Linked DNA regions of Homo sapiens: all the other regions are linked to region 3. Evidence: promoter capture Hi-C in human tissues and cell types (Jung and others, 2019). All regions are on one chromosome and are shown on one strand. Each heading gives the region's core, a stretch centred on a gene start or on the middle of the fragment in contact. The rest is flanking DNA. Distances are from core to core; before and after follow the strand shown. Region 1 holds the start of COQ5 (coenzyme Q5, methyltransferase). Region 2 overlaps CAMKK2 (calcium/calmodulin dependent protein kinase kinase 2). Region 3 holds the start of SPPL3 (signal peptide peptidase like 3). Region 4 overlaps P2RX4 (purinergic receptor P2X 4). Region 5 overlaps GATC (glutamyl-tRNA amidotransferase subunit C).

The links. Contacts are between HindIII fragments. The study calls those that stand out against the background at their distance.
Region 1: the fragment with the promoter of COQ5 here is called in contact with the fragment with the promoter of SPPL3 in region 3 in 1 of the 25 tissues and cell types used here (dorsolateral prefrontal cortex).
Region 2: a contact is called between a fragment that was not itself captured here and the fragment with the promoter of SPPL3 in region 3, in 1 of the 25 tissues and cell types used here (dorsolateral prefrontal cortex).
Region 4: a fragment that was not itself captured here is called in contact with the fragment with the promoter of SPPL3 in region 3 in 1 of the 25 tissues and cell types used here (hippocampus).
Region 5: a fragment that was not itself captured here is called in contact with the fragment with the promoter of SPPL3 in region 3 in 1 of the 25 tissues and cell types used here (hippocampus).

The regions. Positions count from the first base shown.
Region 1 is chr12:120,527,526-120,531,838 of GRCh38, forward strand. COQ5 (coenzyme Q5, methyltransferase) reads right to left here and starts at 1,633. Exons shown (of 7, transcript NM_032314.4): 1 at 1,415-1,633. The coding sequence starts at 1,616. RefSeq lists enhancers at 623-1,393, 1,394-2,163, 1,510-1,969. The HindIII fragment of the contact is 25,598 bases long and covers 1-4,313 here.
Region 2 is chr12:121,251,962-121,255,982 of GRCh38, forward strand. CAMKK2 (calcium/calmodulin dependent protein kinase kinase 2) reads right to left here. Exons shown (of 17, transcript NM_001270485.2): 8 at 3,822-3,843; 9 at 3,589-3,677; 10 at 1,312-1,511; 11 at 700-753. Among named protein-coding and RNA genes, the nearest start is that of CAMKK2, 43 kb to the right of the region's middle. RefSeq lists an enhancer at 3,632-4,021. The HindIII fragment of the contact is 4,173 bases long and covers 661-4,021 here.
Region 3 is chr12:120,901,559-120,905,705 of GRCh38, forward strand. SPPL3 (signal peptide peptidase like 3) reads right to left here and starts at 2,800. Exons shown (of 11, transcript NM_139015.5): 1 at 2,287-2,800. The coding sequence starts at 2,309. It overlaps XLOC_009911 (a long non-coding RNA gene), which reads left to right and starts at 3,137. Exons shown (of 2, transcript NR_131215.1): 1 at 3,137-3,214. RefSeq lists silencers at 2,150-2,199, 2,340-2,559, 2,640-2,999. The HindIII fragment of the contact is 15,749 bases long and covers 1-4,147 here.
Region 4 is chr12:121,230,921-121,234,752 of GRCh38, forward strand. It overlaps P2RX4 (purinergic receptor P2X 4), which reads left to right. Exons shown (of 12, transcript NM_002560.3): 9 at 1,494-1,587; 10 at 1,691-1,756; 11 at 2,077-2,172; 12 at 2,603-3,186. The coding sequence ends at 2,629. Among named protein-coding and RNA genes, the nearest start is that of P2RX4, 23 kb to the left of the region's middle. RefSeq lists an enhancer at 2,822-3,449. The HindIII fragment of the contact is 4,980 bases long and covers 1-3,740 here.
Region 5 is chr12:120,454,526-120,458,433 of GRCh38, forward strand. It overlaps GATC (glutamyl-tRNA amidotransferase subunit C), which reads left to right. Exons shown (of 4, transcript NM_176818.3): 3 at 2,551-2,654. Among named protein-coding and RNA genes, the nearest start is that of GATC, 10 kb to the left of the region's middle. The HindIII fragment of the contact is 8,224 bases long and covers 1-3,908 here.

The DNA.
Region 1 (4,313 bases), core at 383-2,882, 380 kb before region 3:
CTTGCACATTTTCACAGTCTTGCATTACTGTGCACAGCGAGGACTGTCTGTACTGCAATCTCAGTCCCCAATCTGGAATTCATATTTAGTTCAGTAGTTAACTTCTTCCTTGCTTGCCACTGTGTGAAATGTTGATTATACATTGATTATACATTGTAAAATGTTGATTATACATTGGCCGGTGTGGTGGCTCATGCCTGTAATCCCAGCACTTTGGGAGGCCGAGGCAGGTGGATCACGAGGTCAGGAGATCCAGACCATCCTGGCTAACATGGTGAAACCCTGTCTGTACTAAAAAAAAAATACAAAAAATTAGCCGGGCATGGTGGCGGGCCCCTGTAGTCCCAGCTACTCGGGAGGCTGAGGCAGGAGAATGGCGTGAAGCCAGGAGGCGGAGCTTGCAGTGAGCCGAGATCGCGCCACTGCCTTCCAGCCTGGGGGTGACAGAGAGAGACTCAGTCTCAAAAAAAAAAAAAAAAAAAAAAAAAAAAAAAAAAGAAACCCCGTCTCTACTGAAAATACAAAAATTAGCAGGGCACAGTGGCAGATGCCTGTAATCCCAGCTACTCAGGAGGCTGAGGCAGGAGGATCGCTTGAACCTAGGAGGCTGAGGTTGCAGTGAGCCCATATTGCGCCATTGCACTCCAGCCTGGGCAACAAGAGCGAAACTCCGTCTCAAAATAAATAAATAAATAAATAAATAAATAAAAACAACCAAAAAAACCCCTATTTTTCTCTAGAGGTAAAGAACGGGGGCTTCAGACTCAGATTAAACTGGGTTTGAATACTGGTTCCGCCACTTACTGATATGTTCAACTGGGCAACTTCTTGCTTAACCTTTAAGTCTCAATTTCCTCACGTGTAATATGGTAATAACAATACCCACTACTGGAATGTTGAAAATGAGAATTGAAAATAATGTCTGTACGTTGCCTGGCACATCACAAACGCTCAGTTGATGGGATTTAGTCATCAGTATTCTGCTTTTAAAAAGGGGGCGTCTGGCTGGGCGCGGTGGCTCACGCCTGTAATCCCAGCACTTTGGGAGGCCGAGGCAGGCGAATCACCTGAGGTCAGGAGTTCGAGACCAGCCTGGTGAAACCCCATCTCTAGTAAGAATACAAAAAAGTTAGCCGGGCGTGCTGGCGGGCGCCTGTAATCCCAGCTACTCGGGAAGCTGAGGCAGGAGAATCGCTTGAACCCGGGAGGCGGAGGTTGCAGTGAGCCAAGATCGGACCATTGCACTCCAGTGTGGGCAACAAGAGCGAAATTCTGTCTCCAAAAAAAAAAAAAATCATAACTGCACAGACAACAACACTGGAACTAATTGGATGTTAAATCAACCCTAACTGGCCAGAAGAAACCAGACCATGGACGGTCAGATCCCTCCCATCCGCCCTCTCGCCCCTTTCACCTTTGCCCCCCTTCTCCTCTTCCGACACAGTCTCAAACCCAAAGTGCGTTTCCGCTGCCCGCTTCTCTTGGGACAAGAGCCGAGCACTTAGTAGGTCCCCGGGCCAAGAGCTACGAAGCCCGAGGAGCTGGCAGCCCCGCATCGCCCGCGACCACCCACGGCCGCAATAGCTCCATAGAGCACAGCTCCCGGGGGCCGCCATCTTGGTAGTCGAGTGACAACGGCCAGAGAGTACGCCTTGTTGCGTCACTCCACGAACGACGGCGGCTGGCCGGCAACATTATTAGCCGAACGCGCCCTGAAATCTGATACACAGTTGTGCCGGCATTATCTCTAGGATCCAAAGGGTGGTCTCTAAGTATCGGAAATCCCTTCCTCTCTCTCTTCTCAAATTGAATTTACAATTCACCAGGAATCAGGGGATCTCAGGGGAGCCCCGGGTCACCTCTTAGCGGCCATGTCTCTGAATCCGGCTAGGCAGAAAAGTACTAACTCGCAAGATATCCAGGAACTCTTGTTGTCTTGTGCAGAAGGGGGAAATTGAGGCATGGTGTGGTTAAAAAGCCAAGATCACGGGCCAATTCCTGCACACTTTGTTGAGCGTAAGAATCACTTGGTTTACGTTTTAAAATGAAGATTCCTGGGTCCCCAACTACCAGAGATTTTGATCTGACCTATATCCCTTTAATCTCTATTTAAACAAATTTCTCTGGCGATTCTGATGCTAAAGATGCAGACCATTCTTGAGAAACATATGTTACACTACTCTGAAAAATAAACATAGGACAGACTTCTTTGTTCTGTCCGTTTTATGAACCTAGGAAGCTCATAAATGGGAACGAAAGCTCTGGTATCCACTTAGCAAGCCAGAACCACCACTCACACTTGGTCTCCTGCTGACACAAAGCTACATTCCTAGCTCCAGGTGGCATGTCATGGGTGTTTTACTTCAGCCCCAGATTTTCAGTCTTTTTTTAATGGCAAGGGTAATGCAGACCGTCTTGTGCAAAATAAAGAACGGACGTTGTTGAGTTTTGCTTGGATTACTGTATGTTTCTGCTTTCATTCCATTTTAAATGTATGTTTCCTGTAAATATTTCACGAGGAGAAAGCGCCAATAGAAGAAACTGTTTTGAAATGAAAATTCTCTTCCTGGTTTAATATAGCCTGACAGATGGACACCTAACCGCTTTCGTTTGGGAAGTACTGCGCTGGGATTTCTGTTTCTTTCTCTTTTATTTTAAGAATGATAGAAGGTCCTCGTTGGTATAGTGATGAGAAAAAAAAAAGGAAGGATACAAGGGCGAAATGATTCATCCATGTATTCATAATTCTCATGTCTTTGTTAAAAGAAATTAAGTGGCTGGGTGCGGTGGCTCACGCCTGTAATCCCAACACTTTGGGAGCCCGAGGTGGGCGGATTGCATGAGGTCAGGAGTTCGAGACCAGCATGGCTAACATGGTGAAACCCCGTCTCTACTAAAATACAAAAATCAGCCAGGCATGGTGGTGCACACCTGTAGTCCCAGCTATTCAGGAGGTTGAAGCAGGAGAATCCCTTCAACCCAGGAGTCACTGGTTGCAGTGAGCTGAGATTGCACCACTGCACTCAAGCCTGGGTGACAGAGCCAGACTCCATCTCAAAAATAAATAAATAAATAAATAAATAAATAAATAAAGTCTCATCAAAGAATCTTATATCTTCCATATCTAGTTATATAAAAGAATGGATCTCAGGATTTAGGGCTGTTCCTTCTGCACATCAGATTAAGTATCCAGACCAACAGTATTTCACTGTTCTCTTATTTCATATGATATGTGGAGGAAAACCTGTAAAAAGTGAAGTAGGACAAGGACTGTTGGAAGGTATTTTTTTTTTGAGGTAGCGTCTTGCTCTGTTGCCCAGACTGGAGTGCAGTGGCATGACTTCGGCTCACTGCAACCTCTGTCTTCTGGGTTCAAGTGATCCTCCTGCCTCAGCTTCCCTAGTAGCTGGGATTACAGGCATGCGCCACCATGCCAGGCTAATTTTTGTATTTTTAGTAGAGATGGGGTTTCGCTATATTGGCCAGGCTGGTCTTGAACTCCTGACTTCAGGTAATCCACCTGCCTCAGCCTCCCAAAGTGCTGAGCCACCACTCCCGGCGCTAATTTTTGTATTTTTAGTAGAGATGGGGTTTCACCATTTTGGCTAGGCTGGTCTTATTTACTTATTTATTGATTCATTCTTTATTTTGAAATAGGATCTCACTTTGTCACCCAGGGTGGAGTGCAGTGGCACAATCATAGCTCACTTCTCACCCTCCCAGGCTCAAGCCATCCTCCCACCTCAACCTCCTGAGTAGCTGGGACTACAGGTGTGCACCACCACACTGGGCTGATTTTTGCATTTTTTGTTGAGACAGGGTTTTGCCATGTTGCCCTGAATGGTCTTGAACTCCTGGGCTTGGGCAATCTGCCTACCTCAATCTCCCAAAGTGCTGGGATTATAGGCGTGAGCAACCGCACCTGGCCCTGGTCATTTCCTTAATAGCATGTCTATGTGATCTTTTGAATCTCAAACTACTATGGTTGGAAGGGAATCATTTGTAATTTTCCAAAGTACAAATAGGTGTGGTATGATTCCCAAAGTCTTAGCGTCTATATCTGTAAACCATATGTTTTTGTTTTTTGTTTTTTAATTTTTAGTAGAGAATTGGTTTCACTATGTTCAGGCTGGTCTCAAACTCCTAACATCAAGTGATCTTCCTGCCTCAGCCTCCCAGAATGTTGGGATTGAGCTACCTTGCCTGGCCACATACATGATTTTCCTTTTTTTTTCTTTTTTTTTTTTTTTGAGACAGAGTCTCGCTCTGTCACCCAGGCTGGAGTGCAGTGGCCCAATCTCAGCTCACTGCAA
Region 2 (4,021 bases), core at 1,497-3,996, 350 kb after region 3:
CCCCTCTGACAAAAGCTTCTAGGAATACCCTGACGGAAAGAACATCAGAGCAGTATCAGGCTCAGGAGGAACGAGCACAGTTATTGATTAGTGATGTCTGCCTTGGGCTCAGAAATGGGAGAGGTGGCAGAACTGCTGTCCTTGCCCTAAATTTATCAACTATTTATAAACTCTAGAGCCTCTGCCAATCCTTCTGTTTTAACAGATCATTTTTTCATAGATATGATCATGACATACATACACATGTATATTTAGGAAGGCATCCTTTTTCACATTGAGATCTAGGTGTAGAAATAAAATAACTCTTCTCTTATTTTATTTTTTGAGACGGAGTCTCGCTCTTGTTGCCCAGGCTGGAATACAATGGTGCAATCTCAGCTCACTGCAAGCTCCGCCTCCTGGGTTCAGGCGATTCTCCTGCTTCAGCCTCCAGAGTAGCTGGGACTATAGGCATGCGCCATCACGCCTGGCTAATTTTTTGTATTTTTAGTAAAGACGGGGTTTCACCATGTTGGCCAAGCTGGTCTCCAACTCCTAACCTCTGCCTCAGCCTCCCAAAGTGCTGGGTTTACAGGCGTGAGCCACCATGCCCAGCCTAAAATAACTCTTAAATAAGTAAGTACTGTCTCCCCGCAAGGGTGACTATTAACCCAGGGGCCACCCAGCAGTACTGAGGGGACAGACACCCCGCCCTCTTACCTGGCCAAAGACAAAGCAGTATAGTGTCACACCCATGGCCCAAACATCCAAGGCCTGCAAGAAAAAGAGCTTAGTGTGAGGGCATAAGGGGTGGTCCAGCCTCCAATCCTCCAGTTTTCCTTTGGGGAACCACCTCTTGACTTTCAGCCCTTGGAGTTGGGGCGGGACCAATCTTGTCTCCTAGGCTCTGGGGCAGGCACAGGATCCAGGCCAGGCCAATGAGAGCACCACTACCCCCAGCCACAGTGATTGGTTCAAGCATGGGCACATGACCCATGTTGGGCCAATCAGAGCCAACCCCAGGGTTTTCACAGGCACTATTCAGAATGAGGAATGCTCTTGCCACTGAGGTTGGCAAATGATAGAAAGTAACCTGGTCCCTGGGTGCCTGACCCACCTGTGGAGGAAACCAAATAAGAAAAACAACTGAAAGATGGCGGGAGATGGTTTCTGTTTGAGTCCCTGGATCTAGCCAAGCCTGAAGCCTACCCCTCAGTATCTTGATCCAGGGGATTCACTGTTTAAGCCTGTGTGCGTTGGGTTTCTGCTGCTTACAATCCAGAAGACACTAACACAGGCAGAACTCTGTGGCTGAGGCAGGCCCAAGCTTACCTTCCCAGAGAAGATCTTGCGGGTCTCAGAGAGCGACTCGGGTGCCATGAAGGCGGGCGTGCCCACGGTGTTGGAGAGGAGCGCGTCACTGCCCTTGAATTCATTGCTCACACCAAAGTCAGCGATCTTGATGTGCCCATCTTCTCCGACCAGGAGGTTGGAAGGTTTGATGTCACGGTGGATGATCTTCTGGTAGTGTACTGGGGAGGCGTAGACAGCAGGTGGGAGATAGGGGCAGGAAAACCTCGTGAGCACCTCTATGCGGCCACATGGCCTGGAGACACAGGCATGGCACCCCTCTGATGCCTTGTCTCCCACAGCCCCAGGCCTTTTCCAACCTTCCACTCCCCAAACCCGCTGGGCACTGACATGCTCTAAAAGATGAGGGGAAAAGTGTCTTCAAGGAAGTCCCAGCCCACCATCACCCCACCCCTTCTCAACAATGACACATAAAACACTGCCAATAGCAATTCGTAATCGCCTGTTATTTATTAAGTCACAAGTGACAGTGCATGGAAAGTTTTTGCTGGGCTTGGCTCACAGCTAGTTGTGAAACTGACAGTGAAACATAGTTTCATTTACCAACAGCCAATACTCAACTGATTTACCAAACCGACAATGACCTGAGCAGGCCGATTTGAAATGTGAACCACACACAGAACTCGGGGCTTGGCTAACTCCTCCTGGCTGGATATCAGCCCATGGTACAGGACAGTTCTATGGCCTGGAAGACCCAACTGCCATTTCTGGGGTGATGATGATGATGAAGACGATTTCAGTGAAAGCAGCAGCAGAGCACCAAGTGAGGGGCCCGGCCCTGCGTTGTGTTTCACATTCACATTTTACATTTAATTAAACCTCACAACCATCCTATGTGACAGGCAGGGATAAGAGATAACGTGGTGGCCGGGCACGGTGGCTCACGCCTGTCATCCCAGCACTTTGGGAGGCAAGGCAGGGGGATCACCTGAGGTCAGGAGTTCAAGACCAGCCTGGCCAACATAGCGAAACCCCATCTCTACAAAAAATACAAAAATTAGCCGGGCATGGTGGCGTACACCTGTAGTCCCAGCTACTTGGGAGGCTGAGGCATGAGAATTGCTTGAACCCAGGAGGCAGAGGTTGCAGTGACCTGAGATCGCGCCACTGCACTCCAGCCCAGGCAACAGGGCAAGAATCTCAAAGGAAAAAAAGAGCTAAGATGTTTAACAAGCAGAAGCAGAAAGGACACCTGCCAATCAAACCACTGATGTGTACTGGCTGATCTCAGCCCTGGTGAGAGATATGTTATCCCCATTTTACAGATGAGGAAGCTAAGGTTCCAGGAGGTGAACAGGACCCTGATCCCAGGGTCACTGGGAGGAATAAGAGACAAAAAAAATAGAGCCCCAAACAGTGCCTGGTGCACATAGAAAGTGCTAAATAGTCACTATTGCTACTGCTCTTCATTTTGCCAAGTGGCAGGAAGAAGGGTTTTGGCTCGCCTGGACCATGGCCATAGGGTGGCTCTCTGCAGCTGGCCCTGATTCTGCATTTCACACAATTCTGTTTCCCACTATGATGGTTGATACTGAGTGTCAACTTGATTGGACTGAAGGATACAAAGTATTAATCCTGGATGTGTCTGTGTGGGTGTTGCCAAAGGAGATTAACATTTGAGTCAGTGGGCTGGGGAAGGCAGACCCACAATCTAATCAGCTGCCAGCGAATATAAAGCAGGCAGAAAAACGTGAAAGGTGAGACTGGCCTAGCCTCCCAGCCTATGTTTTTTTCCTATCTGGATGCTTCCTGCCCTCAAACGTCAGACTCCACGTTCTTTAGTTTTGAGAGTTAGATGGGCTCTCCTTGCTCCTCAAGCTTGCAGACAGACTATATTGTGGGACCTTGTGATCGTGTAAGTTAATACTTAATAAACTCCCCTTTATATATATAATTATATATATAATTTTATATATATATAATTTTATATATATATAATTATATATATAATTTTATATATATATAATTATATATATAATTATATATATAATTTTATATATAATTTTATATATATATAATTATATATAATTTTATATATATAATTATATATATAATTTTATATATATAATTTTATATATATATATGTATCTCCTATTAGTTCTGTCCCTCTAGAGGACCCCAATCCACCCGCCCACCTCCCTGTGCTCCAGGAAGAAAATAAGACACTTTCCACTTTGCACCCACGCTCAGAATGCTAACTACCCACTGGGTGAGAGCCCTCCCGCAGGCCCTGCTCACAGTACTCGATGCCTTTGATCAGATCCTGGAAGTAGAAACGGGCCTGGTCTTCAGAGAGTGGTTTGAGGGTGGGCACTTCCATCACGGGCCTGAAAGGTCGACACTCATGTGAAACACAAAGCAGACCCGCCAGCCCTTGCCCTCTCTCATGAGCAGAGCCCAGTGGCACCTCACTCAGCTATGCAGCTACAGAAGCTTCTTGCATCACCCCTGCTGGGAGCTGGGACACTCACCCTTGGTTGACCAGTTCGAACACTGTAGGGAAGAAAAGGGTGAAACTGTTACATGGGAAACTGAACATCCATCTCTCTCTGTCCTCCCCACCTCCCAACCACCTCCAGAAACACCAAGAAAGACAGAAACTAGTATTAGAGCTGGGGAGAGGAACAGTCCACTGAACCAAGCTGGCCAAGGTCCTGCTTTGCTAAATTTC
Region 3 (4,147 bases), core at 1,550-4,049:
GCAGCCTGGGTGACAGAGCGAGACTCCGTCCTAAAAAAAAAAAAAAAAAAAAAGGAAACTGCCCACTTTCCCCAGTCTCCCCTTATATGCCACCCTCTCTCCAGATAATGTAAAAATTTTCTTCATCTCAAAACCTGCCAAAGGTTGAGGGGCTAAGCTCCCCGATTTCAAGGAGTTTCTTTGCCTGTAAAGCAAACAGAGCTGACATTGAAGGAAGTATTTTAGTAGAATAAATTTGTAAATTGTCAAACTTCACAAAGTAATCCCTCCTTAATAGAGCCAACTAATGTCAGAGAGAGGTCGTGTGTGTCCAACCTACCTAGTAAAACATTTTCATTTTCCCCATTTCTTGACCACTGAGTTTTCTATTCTTTCAACCATCCAGGGCCTCTGTACAGCACAGTAAAAACAGCAAAGCAGCCATTAGGACTCTCAGGGCCACAGCCATTAGGGCCAGAGTATGAGAAGCTCAAGATGAGTAACCACAAGGCATGACAGAAACACCTTTACCTTCATTTCTTACTCTGTCCAGAAGGAAGCTGAAATTGTAATCTTGTGTTCCCTACGACCTGCTACTGAAAGGCAGCTGTCACGCAAAACTATGAAATTAGCTTAAACCTCTTTTTAGAGCACGTGTTCACCAAGATTTTAATTCTTCCTTTAGGGTTACTTTGTCTCTCAGTTACCTTCTTCTTGAGATTGCACATACATCAATGAAGTTCTCTTAAGAATTATCATCTTCAATCCCCAACTCCCTTTCTCTTATGTGAAGACTCAATGAGTTACTGACTTATAACCTCTAACACTATAAATAATCCACTCAAAGTCTTCTACCTAAAACCATTCCTTATTTTCTGATATTACCCATTTCTTAGATGTTTCTCTAGGATAATTATAATTAATGTAGTAAGATCTGTGGCACTTCACAGTTTGCCAAGTGCTTTCTAAATGTACTCACTTAATCCTTACAGGCTGTGGAAAAGGTAATTCCCTCTATTTTATAGGTAAGGAAAAAGGACCGAAGAACTCACTACCATGTCGTATCAACAAAGCAAGTTGGTGGCAAACCGGACCTCCGAAATAGGTCTTCCAACTCCACACGGCATGCTCGTCCCATTCTATTATGCTCTTTTCTAAGAAGGGAATGTCTACAGTTCTGTCCCAAACCACATTTGCTTCAAGAGTAAACCATCTTCAAACCATTTCTCTAAATTGCAATCAGGTCCCCCACTCCTACGATCATGCCATTTCTTGCTTCCTCACTCTCCAGCTATGACTTCCTTCTCACTACCCGATTTCCACTCTTCATGGATACTGCCATCATTCCTTCAACCCGTCCTGCAAATATCCCACCTCTACATGCTAAAGGGAGACCCCTCATGTTCCTTCCCCCAAACCCTGGCACTCCCTTCTCCGGATATGTAGGTTGTCACCCCATAAACTACACAGTAGCTTCTCGCTTCTCGGCCCTTAACGAGCTACTTACTAACTTTAAAAGCCCCACAGAAATGAACTTAACTTGCAGGTCCTCCACCTCCACACTTGGCCCTGGGCGCCATTCCTCTGAAAATAATAGTACCAACCCTTACAAAGACTCTGCCCATGCCCCACTGTCACCAACGAATTCCTTTTCCAGAAGGAAAAGGAAACAGGTTCTTCAGGCTCCTCTTCCAACCTCTTCACCAGTGACTCCCCTCCAAGGTTCGTGGACTCTACCCCCGCAGTTTTCCTCCCCTCACTCCCGGGCCTCTGCCCACCTCACCAACTCTCCCTGCGCTCCCTGTCCCAGAGCCAAGCGGCGGCCGCTCCACTCTCCCAACTTAGAAGTTCTGCCTCTATCACCTGTTCTCACTAGAGCTTCCTCTCAGCCCAGCGGCCCACCTTTGCCCTGGCCTGCCTCTCTCCACCCCTTCGAGTCCTCCTGCCCAGGAAACACCCCCACGAGTCAGTTCCGGGGTGCCTGTCGGATTCAACTTCCCATCCGTGGGATTCCCACCCCCGGGGTCATGCTCCCCTTCTCCATCACCTGCTCCGCCCATAGCCAGATGACATCCGCCGCTGCCTCCTCCTCCATTCCCCTTCTCGGACGCCAGGTCCCCGGCCACTCACCGCCCTCCGTGCGCGCCAGCCGCCCCCTCCGGTGGGGAAGAGGGGGGCGTGCACCCCAACCCGCGCCCCCCCCCCACGACACGCACCTGTTCTTCCTCCTCTTCCCCTCGGCGGGCCGCGCCGGCGCCCCGACCCCCACCCTTGCCGCCTCCCGGCCTCCCGGAGCCCCGCACTCACCACGAGTAGGTCTGCTCCGCCATGGCGCTGCCTCTCGTGGGCTCCGCTGCAGGCTGTGGCCGGGCCCGGCGGCGGCGGGCTCGCTCGGGCCGTAGCTGAAGGCGCGGCCGGGGTCCGGTGCTTGCTTGCTTGCTCGCTCGCTGGCTCGCTGGCTGCACGGCGGGCCGGGAAGGCGGCTGGCGGGGAGAGGCCGGGCTCCGAAGCGGCCCCGCTCCCTGGGCCCCGGGGCGGGGCGGGCTCCGCTCTCGGCCTCCCTCACCCGCGGCGGCGGCGGCGGCTCCGCTGCAGCTCCAAACCCAACATGGCGGCGGCGGCGGCGCGGAGAACAAGGGGGCCCTGGGGCGGGCGAACGGCAAGACGGGCCCGCGCTCACTGCGCGCGGGGCCGCGGGAGCGCCGCGCTCGGGCGGCGGCGGCGGCGGCCGGGGGACATGGCCGGCGGGCGGAGGCGGCGGCGACTGAGGGGGGCGCTAGGCGATGAGGCGAGGCCACTCGATCACACCCGCCGAGGGGAGGAGGGGCGGGGGCGGGGGCGAGCCTTGGCCCCGCGCGGGTCACGTGCCCAAAACACGCTCACGTGATGCGCGCCCCGCCCCTCGAGCCGGGCCCATGCGCAGAGACGTCGGCTCCTGGGTTCTAGGCGGCTGCTGCTCGCACAGCCAGAGCAGTTGGGCCGCCTCCCGCTGCCTGGTGCCGCCCCCCTCCCCACGCGGAGATGTCGCCTCGGGTACCCTCTTCCGCCCCTCTCCGAGGGGCTGCTGCACCAGCCAATCGGGAACCCCGATGCGCGTCTGTTGGCTGCCACTCAGCTGTCAACCGTCAGTCAACAGTCTGCTGGCCACGGGCCCCCCAACTGTCAGTCAACCTGTCAGTCAACAGGCAGAGGGCTGCATTCCTTCGTTCGTATGTTCCTTGGTTCATTCATTCAGGTAGCAAATATTCCAGGCAGCCAACCTTTATTGCGCCCAGGCCCGGCACCAAGTCGAATACCCCACGCTTGCCTTCACAGAATCAATCAACAGATATTTGTTGGGTGCCAACCATGTGTCAACTCACTCTGCCTTCCTAGAGCTTACATTCTAAAGGAAGAGACATAGTCCAAGCCCACAAATAAGATAATTTCAGATGCTGCTAAGTTTTACAAAAACACATTTTGTAACACAAGGTGAGGGGACAGAGAGTGAGCAGAGGTGTGGGTTACTTTAGATAGGGTGGTCAAGGAAGGCCTCGCTTAGGAGGTGACATTTGAGCTGATATTGAATGATGACAGAGAGCTGGCCTTGCAAAGATCCACAGGAAAAGAGTTCCTGGCAGAGGGAACAGCAAGGGCAGAAGGCTCAGGAAACCGTCCATTTGGAGGTCTGGAAACCGGCACAGAAATAAACACGGTAGAGCTAGACCAGAGACCAACAAAGTGAATCTGGAGCTTAGATGGAGAGAGAAGAGAGAGATTAATTGAGGCCCCAGGTACTGCGGAATGCTTCCCCAGGAGTGGATGAGGCCGTCTGAAAGGGTGAGAGGCTTATCAAAGAAAAGTCATTCTTTTGGCCGGGCGCGGTGGCTCACGCCTGTAGTCCCAGCACTTTGGGAGGCCGAGGTGGGTGGATCATGAGGTCAGGAGATCGGGACCATCCTGGTTAACACGGTGAAACCCTGTCTCTACTAAAAATACAAAAAATTAGCCGGGCGTGGTGGTGGACGCCTGTAATCCCAGCTACTCAGGAGGTTGAGGCAGGAGAATGGCGTGAACCCCGGAGGCAGAGCTTGCAGTGAGCCGAGATTGCGCCACTGCACTCCAGCCTGGGCAACAGCGAGACTCTGTCTCAAAAAAAAAAAAAGAAAAAGAAAAAGAAAAAGAAAAA
Region 4 (3,832 bases), core at 1-2,500, 330 kb after region 3:
TATATGTATATATGTGTATATATATATATAGCCATTATATATATAGCCATTATATATATATATTTTTTTTTTTTTCTTCTTTTTTAAGGGAGTGACTTGCTCTGTCACCCAGGTTGGAGTGCAGTGGTGCGATTTCAGCTCACTGCAGCCTTTGCCTCCCGGGTTCAAGACATTCTCCTGCCTCAGCCGCCTGAGTAGCTGGGATTACAGGCGCCCGCCACCACACCCAGCTAATTTTTTGTATTTTTATTAGAGACGGGGTTTCTCCACATTGGCCAGGGTGGTCTCGAGCTCCTCACCTCAAGTGATCCACCTGCCTCGGCCTCCCAAAGTGCCGGAATTACAGGTGTGAGCCACCGCACCCAGCCATATATTTTTAAATGGTCTTACTGAGATGCAATTCACATGCCATACCGTTCACACATTTGAAGTGCAGAATTCATAGTTTTCACTATATTCACAGATAAGTGCAGGCTTCACCACAGTCGATTTTAGAACATTTCCGTCATCTCAAAAAGAAACCCTGCACCCTTCTGTCATCCCCCGGCCCCTGGCAACAGTGGTCTACTTTCTGTCTCTGCAGATGTGCCTCTTCTGAGCATTTCATATAATCAATATGTGGCCTTTTGCGTCTGGCTCCTTCCCCTTAGCCTGATGTTTTCAAGCTTCATCCATGTCGTAGCCTGTGTCAGTACCTCGTCTCTTTTTATGGCCAAATCATATTCTGCTGTGTTGACAGACGACGTTTTGTTCATCTCTTTATCTGTGTGACGAACGAGTGGTTCTTTTTGTTGTTGTTGTTGTTGTTGAAGACTGTGTGCACAGAATCAATGTTTCTTTGAAAAAATAAATAAATTTAAAAAGCCCTAGGTCAAGAGATTGAGACCATCATGGCCAACTTGGTGAAACCCCGTCTCTACTAAAAAATCCAAAAATTAGCTGGGCATGGTGGTGTGCGCCTGTAGTCCCAGCTACTCGGGAGGCTGAGGCAGAAGAATTGCTTGAACTGGGGAGGTGGAGGTTGCAGTGAGCCAAGATTGGTGCCCCTACACTCCAGCCTGGCAACAGAGGGAGACTCCATCTCAAAAAAAAAAAAAAAAAAAGTCCCTGCACTGATGCTGTGTTGGGGCTGGCTTAGTCCCCTCCTGCAATGCTGGCTGGTCACATTCTTACTGTTAGATGTTGGAGGTCAGGGTCCCTTGAGGGAGGCAGGCAGGATGTACCAGGTGGGATGTTGAGAGCAAACTGTTCAGGTTCAGGAGAGGACACTGGTGCTGGAGGAGGAGGTCTCCCTGTGCCCCTGTACCTCGTGGGCCCCGCATCCTCCTGCTTGCACAGCCCGCCTCAGCCAGGAGAGGCCCCGAGCCGCTCCAGCGTCCATTCAGCCGGCAGAGTGGACCATTCACCTGTGCCAGCTCCACTCTAACGTTCTCTCACAGGGCCCAAGGTCCTGCCCCAGCCATCTCCCCCTGATCCATCCTCCTTCCCCTCAGGTTTGCCAAGTACTACAGAGACCTGGCTGGCAACGAGCAGCGCACGCTCATCAAGGCCTATGGCATCCGCTTCGACATCATTGTGTTTGGGAAGGTAGCTCGCCGCCACTGGCTCCCCTCCGTCACTCCCTGCAGGGACAAGGGGCCTCTCCCTGCCCCTGCAGAAACACTTTTTTTCTTTTTCGGTGTCTTGGCAGGCAGGGAAATTTGACATCATCCCCACTATGATCAACATCGGCTCTGGCCTGGCACTGCTAGGCATGGTGAGTGGTTTAGGCCCTGCCTTCACCCTCACGGTGAGGTGAGACCCTGGGCTGGGGTCCTGGTCCTGGCCCTAGGCCCTAGACCTCAGATGTGTTTCTAAACTTGACCCTCCTACCTTCTTTCCCTTGGCCCCCAGCCCTCCTCCCACCTTCCCTTCTCCAAGACCACCCCCCTCAGGTCCCAGCCTTCTCCCAAGAGATGGGAGTGCCTTTCCATTCCGGTAAAGATTCCAGGCTTCTCAGGAAGGGGCACGCAAAGAATAAGATGGGTTGATGGGTTGCAAGCATCCTGGCTCACTCTCACCCTATGCTAAACTCAGGCGACCGTGCTGTGTGACATCATAGTCCTCTACTGCATGAAGAAAAGACTCTACTATCGGGAGAAGAAATATAAATATGTGGAAGATTACGAGCAGGTAGGCCCCTCCTGGCCCCCAGCAGGCACAGGCCTCTCATCTCTTGGGTGTGGGAGCCCTGGGCGTGGGCCTGTCTGGGGAGGCCCTTCTGCAGAGGCTGGCACCAGTGTGGCGTGGTGTCCCCGTTAACCCGGGCAGTCCTGCCACTCTCAGCAGCTGCTCCATCCCTAGGCCCCTGTACTAGATTGACTCTTTAAACCCAGCCTCGTTTCAATGAGCGACATCTCAGGTTGGTGATGATAATGCATGCTCTGAGAATGCCTGTGGGCACACACTACTTCAGTGCACCTTGCGGAACAGGAAGGGTTGGGTTCCAGGCCTGGGACCAACTTGAGAACCCCTGGCGGTGAAGTCCCAGGAGCGCACCTCCCTCCCGCCTGCCACAAGGGGTCCCAGGGGCACCTTGATCTGCTTGTGTCCTTCTTTGCAGGGTCTTGCTAGTGAGCTGGACCAGTGAGGCCTACCCCACACCTGGGCTCTCCACAGCCCCATCAAAGAACAGAGAGGAGGAGGAGGGAGAAATGGCCACCACATCACCCCAGAGAAATTTCTGGAATCTGATTGAGTCTCCACTCCACAAGCACTCAGGGTTCCCCAGCAGCTCCTGTGTGTTGTGTGCAGGATCTGTTTGCCCACTCGGCCCAGGAGGTCAGCAGTCTGTTCTTGGCTGGGTCAACTCTGCTTTTCCCGCAACCTGGGGTTGTCGGGGGAGCGCTGGCCCGACGCAGTGGCACTGCTGTGGCTTTCAGGGCTGGAGCTGGCTTTGCTCAGAAGCCTCCTGTCTCCAGCTCTCTCCAGGACAGGCCCAGTCCTCTGAGGCACGGCGGCTCTGTTCAAGCACTTTATGCGGCAGGGGAGGCCGCCTGGCTGCAGTCACTAGACTTGTAGCAGGCCTGGGCTGCAGGCTTCCCCCCGACCATTCCCTGCAGCCATGCGGCAGAGCTGGCATTTCTCCTCAGAGAAGCGCTGTGCTAAGGTGATCGAGGACCAGACATTAAAGCGTGATTTTCTTAATCCCTGTCTGTTGTCTCATAGCATGTGCTAGAACTTTCCTTCCTACCCTTTTACGACAACCAGTAAATCCACTATTCCGGCTCACTGTGCTCAGAAAAGGTCCATGGGATGGTCTGTTTCTGGCACTTATGCACATTTTCCCCTACTTCTTTATTTATTTATTTTATTTTTGAGGCAGAGTCTCACTCTGTCGCCCAGGCTGGAGCGCAGTGGTGCAATCTCGGCTCATTGCAACCTCTGCCTCCCGGGTTCAAGCGATTCTCCTGCCTCAGCCTCCCGAGTAGCTGGGATTACAGGTGCATGCCACCATGCCCGGCTAATTTTTGTATTTTTAGTAGAGACAGGGTTTCACCACATTGGCCAGCCAGGCTGGTCTCGAACTCCTGACCTCAAATGATCCATCTGCCTTAGCCTCTCAAAGTGATTGGATTACAGGTGTGCGCCACCACACCTGGCCTATTTATTTTTTTTATTACCCAGGCTGGAGTGCAGTGGCGCAATCACTGCTCACTGCAGTCTCCACCTCCTGGGCTTAAGCGATCCTCCTACCTCAGCCTCCCATAGTGCTGGGATTACAAGCATGAGCCACTGCACCCAGCTGCCTACTTTTTAAAGCCTAATAATTTGTCATTAGCTTGTCTTCCTG
Region 5 (3,908 bases), core at 119-2,618, 450 kb before region 3:
TTCCCCTCCTCAGCCTCTCGCTACAGGCCCCCGCCACCACGCCTGGCTAATTTTTTTTTTTTTGTATTTTTAGTAGAGACGGGGTTTCACCCTGTCAGCCAGGATGGTCTTGATCTCCTGACCTCGTGATCTGCCCGCCTCAGTCTCCCAAAGTGCTGGGATCACAGGCATGAGGCACCGCGCCCGGCCTCTTAGCCATTTTTTAATACTGTCCAACAGAAACTATAAACTCCAGAAAGTCCAAGGGTTACCTTTGAATAGTATAATTATGATTTTTATTTTACTTTTGTTCTCCCAAGTTTTCTTAAATGAATACAGTCCTTGTGTTATTCAAAAAAAAAAAAAAATCTAGTACAACTCTCTTTTGTGTGTGTGTGTGTGAGACACTGTCTCACTCTGTCACCCAGGTTGGAGTGCAGTGGTGTGATCTCCGCTCACTACAAACTCTGCTTCCTACATTCAAGTGATTCTTGTGCCTCAGCCTCCCAGGTAGCTGGGATTACAGGTATGTACCACCATGCCCGGCTAACTTTTATATTTTTAGTAGAGACAGGGTTTCACCATATTGGATGGTCTCGAACTCCTGACCTCAGGTGATCCACCTGCTTTGGCCTCCCAAAGTGCTGGGATTACAGGCTTGAGCCACTGTGCCTGGCCTTTTTTTTTTTCTTCTTGCTCTGTCGCCCAGGCTTGAGTGCAGTGGTGCCATCTCAGCTCACTGCAACCTCCGCCTCCTGGGTTCAGGCGATTCTCCCGCCTCAGCCTCCCGAGTAGTTGGGATCACACGTGCGTGCCACCACGCTTGGCTAGTTTTTGTATTTTTAGTAGAGATGTGGTTTCCCCACGTTGCCCAGGCTGGTCTTGAACTCCTGAATTCAGGTGATCCACCCGCCTTAGCCTTCCAAAGTGCTGGGATTACATGCAAGAGCCACCACACCTGGCCTTTCTCCCCCACACCCCGCCGCCCCCCTCCAAGAAATTTAATGTCTGAAAAGATCATACTTGTTCAAGGCCACACAGTTAAGAATGTGCCAGGTCCTGTAACAGACTTCAACTTTCTAATATTCATACCATGAGTAAATATTTGTTGTGTCTAGCTTTGGGCTGGGTGCCACAAAAAAAGAACTAGTCCTTTCCTAAAATAATCTTATTGTGACAACTTAGTTCTCTTTTTTTTTGAGGCAGAGTATCGCTCTGTCGCCCAGGCTGGAGTGCAGTGGCGCGATCTCGGCTCACTGCAAGCTCCGCCTCCCGGGTTCACGCCATTCTCCTGCCTCAGCCTCCCAAGTAGCTGGGTCTACAGGCGCCCACCACCACGCCCGGCTAATTTTTTTGTATTTTTAGTAGAGATGGGGTTTCACCGTGTTAGCCAGGATGGTCTCGATCTCCTGACCTCGTGATCCGCCCACCTCGGCCTCCCAAAGTGCTGGGATTACAGGCGTGAGCCACCGCGCCCGGCTGACAACTTAGTTCTTATGTGCAGCCTTAGCCCAGATGTACCTGTCACATCTTTGTCCCTCTCTGACATGACTCAAACGCCATTAGGGTCTGCCCTCAGTCTGTGCCCACTCAAAGCAGGAGGAGCGTGGCTACTACCGAATACCATATCAGTGATTTAACAGACTGCTTATTTTTTTAATCTAAGTATCTGGAAGCAGGCTTACACACTTTTACACCTTGAAACAATAGTGAAGCCTCATGCAAATGTTCAAGCTCTTGTGTGTTTTTTACCGGTTTGCCATCTGAAGGCTTTAGTAAAGTCACTAGGTCCCACAGAACACTGGGAGATTCTTGAGCTGTTGGTGGCACATCTTGCTCAAGGGCAGGCACATCCACCAAAGTGGCTGTGGTGGAAAAAGCATTCATTTTAGGTGTATCAGATTGGGCTGAGATCCCAGTTGTTACTTAGCAGCCAACATCCTTAAGTTACTCTTGTGGCAAGTTTGCTTCCCCATCTCTGCTTAGCTTTCCAGCTTCATCTTCCACCCCGGCAGACCACACCCCAGCCTGCTAAACTCCCTGTCCTTCTCTGAATCTCTGAGCTCTCGGCTCTATTGCTTTGGGATTCATGCTGCTATACGTGCCAGGAAGTCCATTTCTCATACCTTCATCCCCCAATCCAGCTATTTCTTGCCCATCCTTGAACAGTGACATCAGCTATTCTGAGGATGTGCTACTCACGCAGGCTGGACTAGGTACCCTTTCTATCCTTTGGCAGGCTGTACTAACCTCTGTTAGATTTAAAATATTGTTTTTGTAATTGCTTTTACCTGTCCCCACCAAAAGACAGTTGCCCATATAATCATCAAAAACTATTTGTTAAATCAATCCAGAGAAGTAATTAGCACTTACTTCTCAGGGTTGTTCGGTCAATCTATAAACTGTAGGCTGTTATTTGGTCTACTGTTGATCCCAGCTTCTCTATCTTTGAACAGTGCCCATTAACTCAAGAATATACTGCTTCCTTGTTCTCTCCTTCTTGCCCCTCTCCATCATCCCCTAAAAGCCCCCTTCTCTGAGAGGGTAACCTTGAGCTTCTGGGTTTTGTAGATGTCTATACCTGAGATCCGACAATGTGGTAGAAGGCAACTGTGCTGATGAATTACTACAAAACTCCCATCGCGTCGTGGAGGAGTACTTTGTGGCCCCCCCAGGTACGTGCTGCCCAGAATGGTTTAACAGATAGTCTCACAGTAACCTTAGGAATGAAGCAGGAAGCATGAGGACCAAAGATGCTATGTGAAGGCACTTTGAAAAGGATGAAGTGCATACAGATGGTGGCATTAAGGTGGCAGTAGGGTCCAGGGTCATACTCACCTCTAGGGGGCAGTTAGTAACAGGAACAAGCAAAACAGGATTGGGGGCATGCGGGAGGTTTAAAGTAGGTGGAAATCTGGAGCTCAAGATCTCCCTAAAGGGGCAGCTGGCATTCAGTGTTTCTCAAAGCCACAGTTAAGACCCTGCCAGATCCTGTAATCGACTCCAACTTTCTAGTATTCATACCATGAATAAATATTTGTTAGGTCTAGCTTTGGGCTGGGTACCACAAAAAAACCAGTCCTTTCCTAAAAGAATCCTTTTTTTTTTTTTTTTTTTTTGAGACGGAGTTTCGCTCTTGTTGCCCAGGCTGGAGTGCAATGGTGCAATCTCGGCTCACCGCAACCTCCACCTCCCGGGTTCAAGCGATTCTCCTGCTCAGGCTCCCCAGTAGCTGGGATTACAGGCATGCACCAGCACGCCTGGCTAATTTTTTGTATTTTTAGTAGAGACAGGGTTTCACTGTGTTAGCCAGGATGGTCTCGATCTCCCGACCTCAGGTGATCCACCCACCTCGGCCTCCCAAAACGAATCTTATTGTGACAACTTAGTTATCATGTGTGGCCTTAGCCCAGATGTTTCTGTCACATCTTTGCCTATGACATGATTCAAACGCCATTAGGGTCTGCCCTCAGTCTGTGCCCATTCAAAGCAGGAGGAGCATGGCTGCTACCCTATCAGTGTTGCCAGGCAGGAATGTAAACCCATTTCTCCAGAGAACCTGGATACCTGACATTTTGTGTGATATTTCTTAAATTTTTTTTTTTTTTTTTGAGATGGAGTCTCGCTCGGTCACCCAGGCTGGAGTGCAATCTTGACTCACTGCAACCTCTGCCTCCCGGGTTCAAGCAATTCTCTGCCTCAGCCTGCCGAGTAGCTGGGATTACAGGTGCCTGCCACCATGCCTGGCTAATATTTTTGTATTTTTAGTAGAGGCAGGATTTCACCATCTTGGCCAGGCTAGTCTTGAACTGGTGATCTACCCGCCTCAGCCTCCCAAAGTGCTGGGATTACAGGGGTGAGCCACTGCACCCCGCCGATATTTCTTAAATTTTAAGTGCTAGCAACCAATTCAAAATTTAAAAAACAAA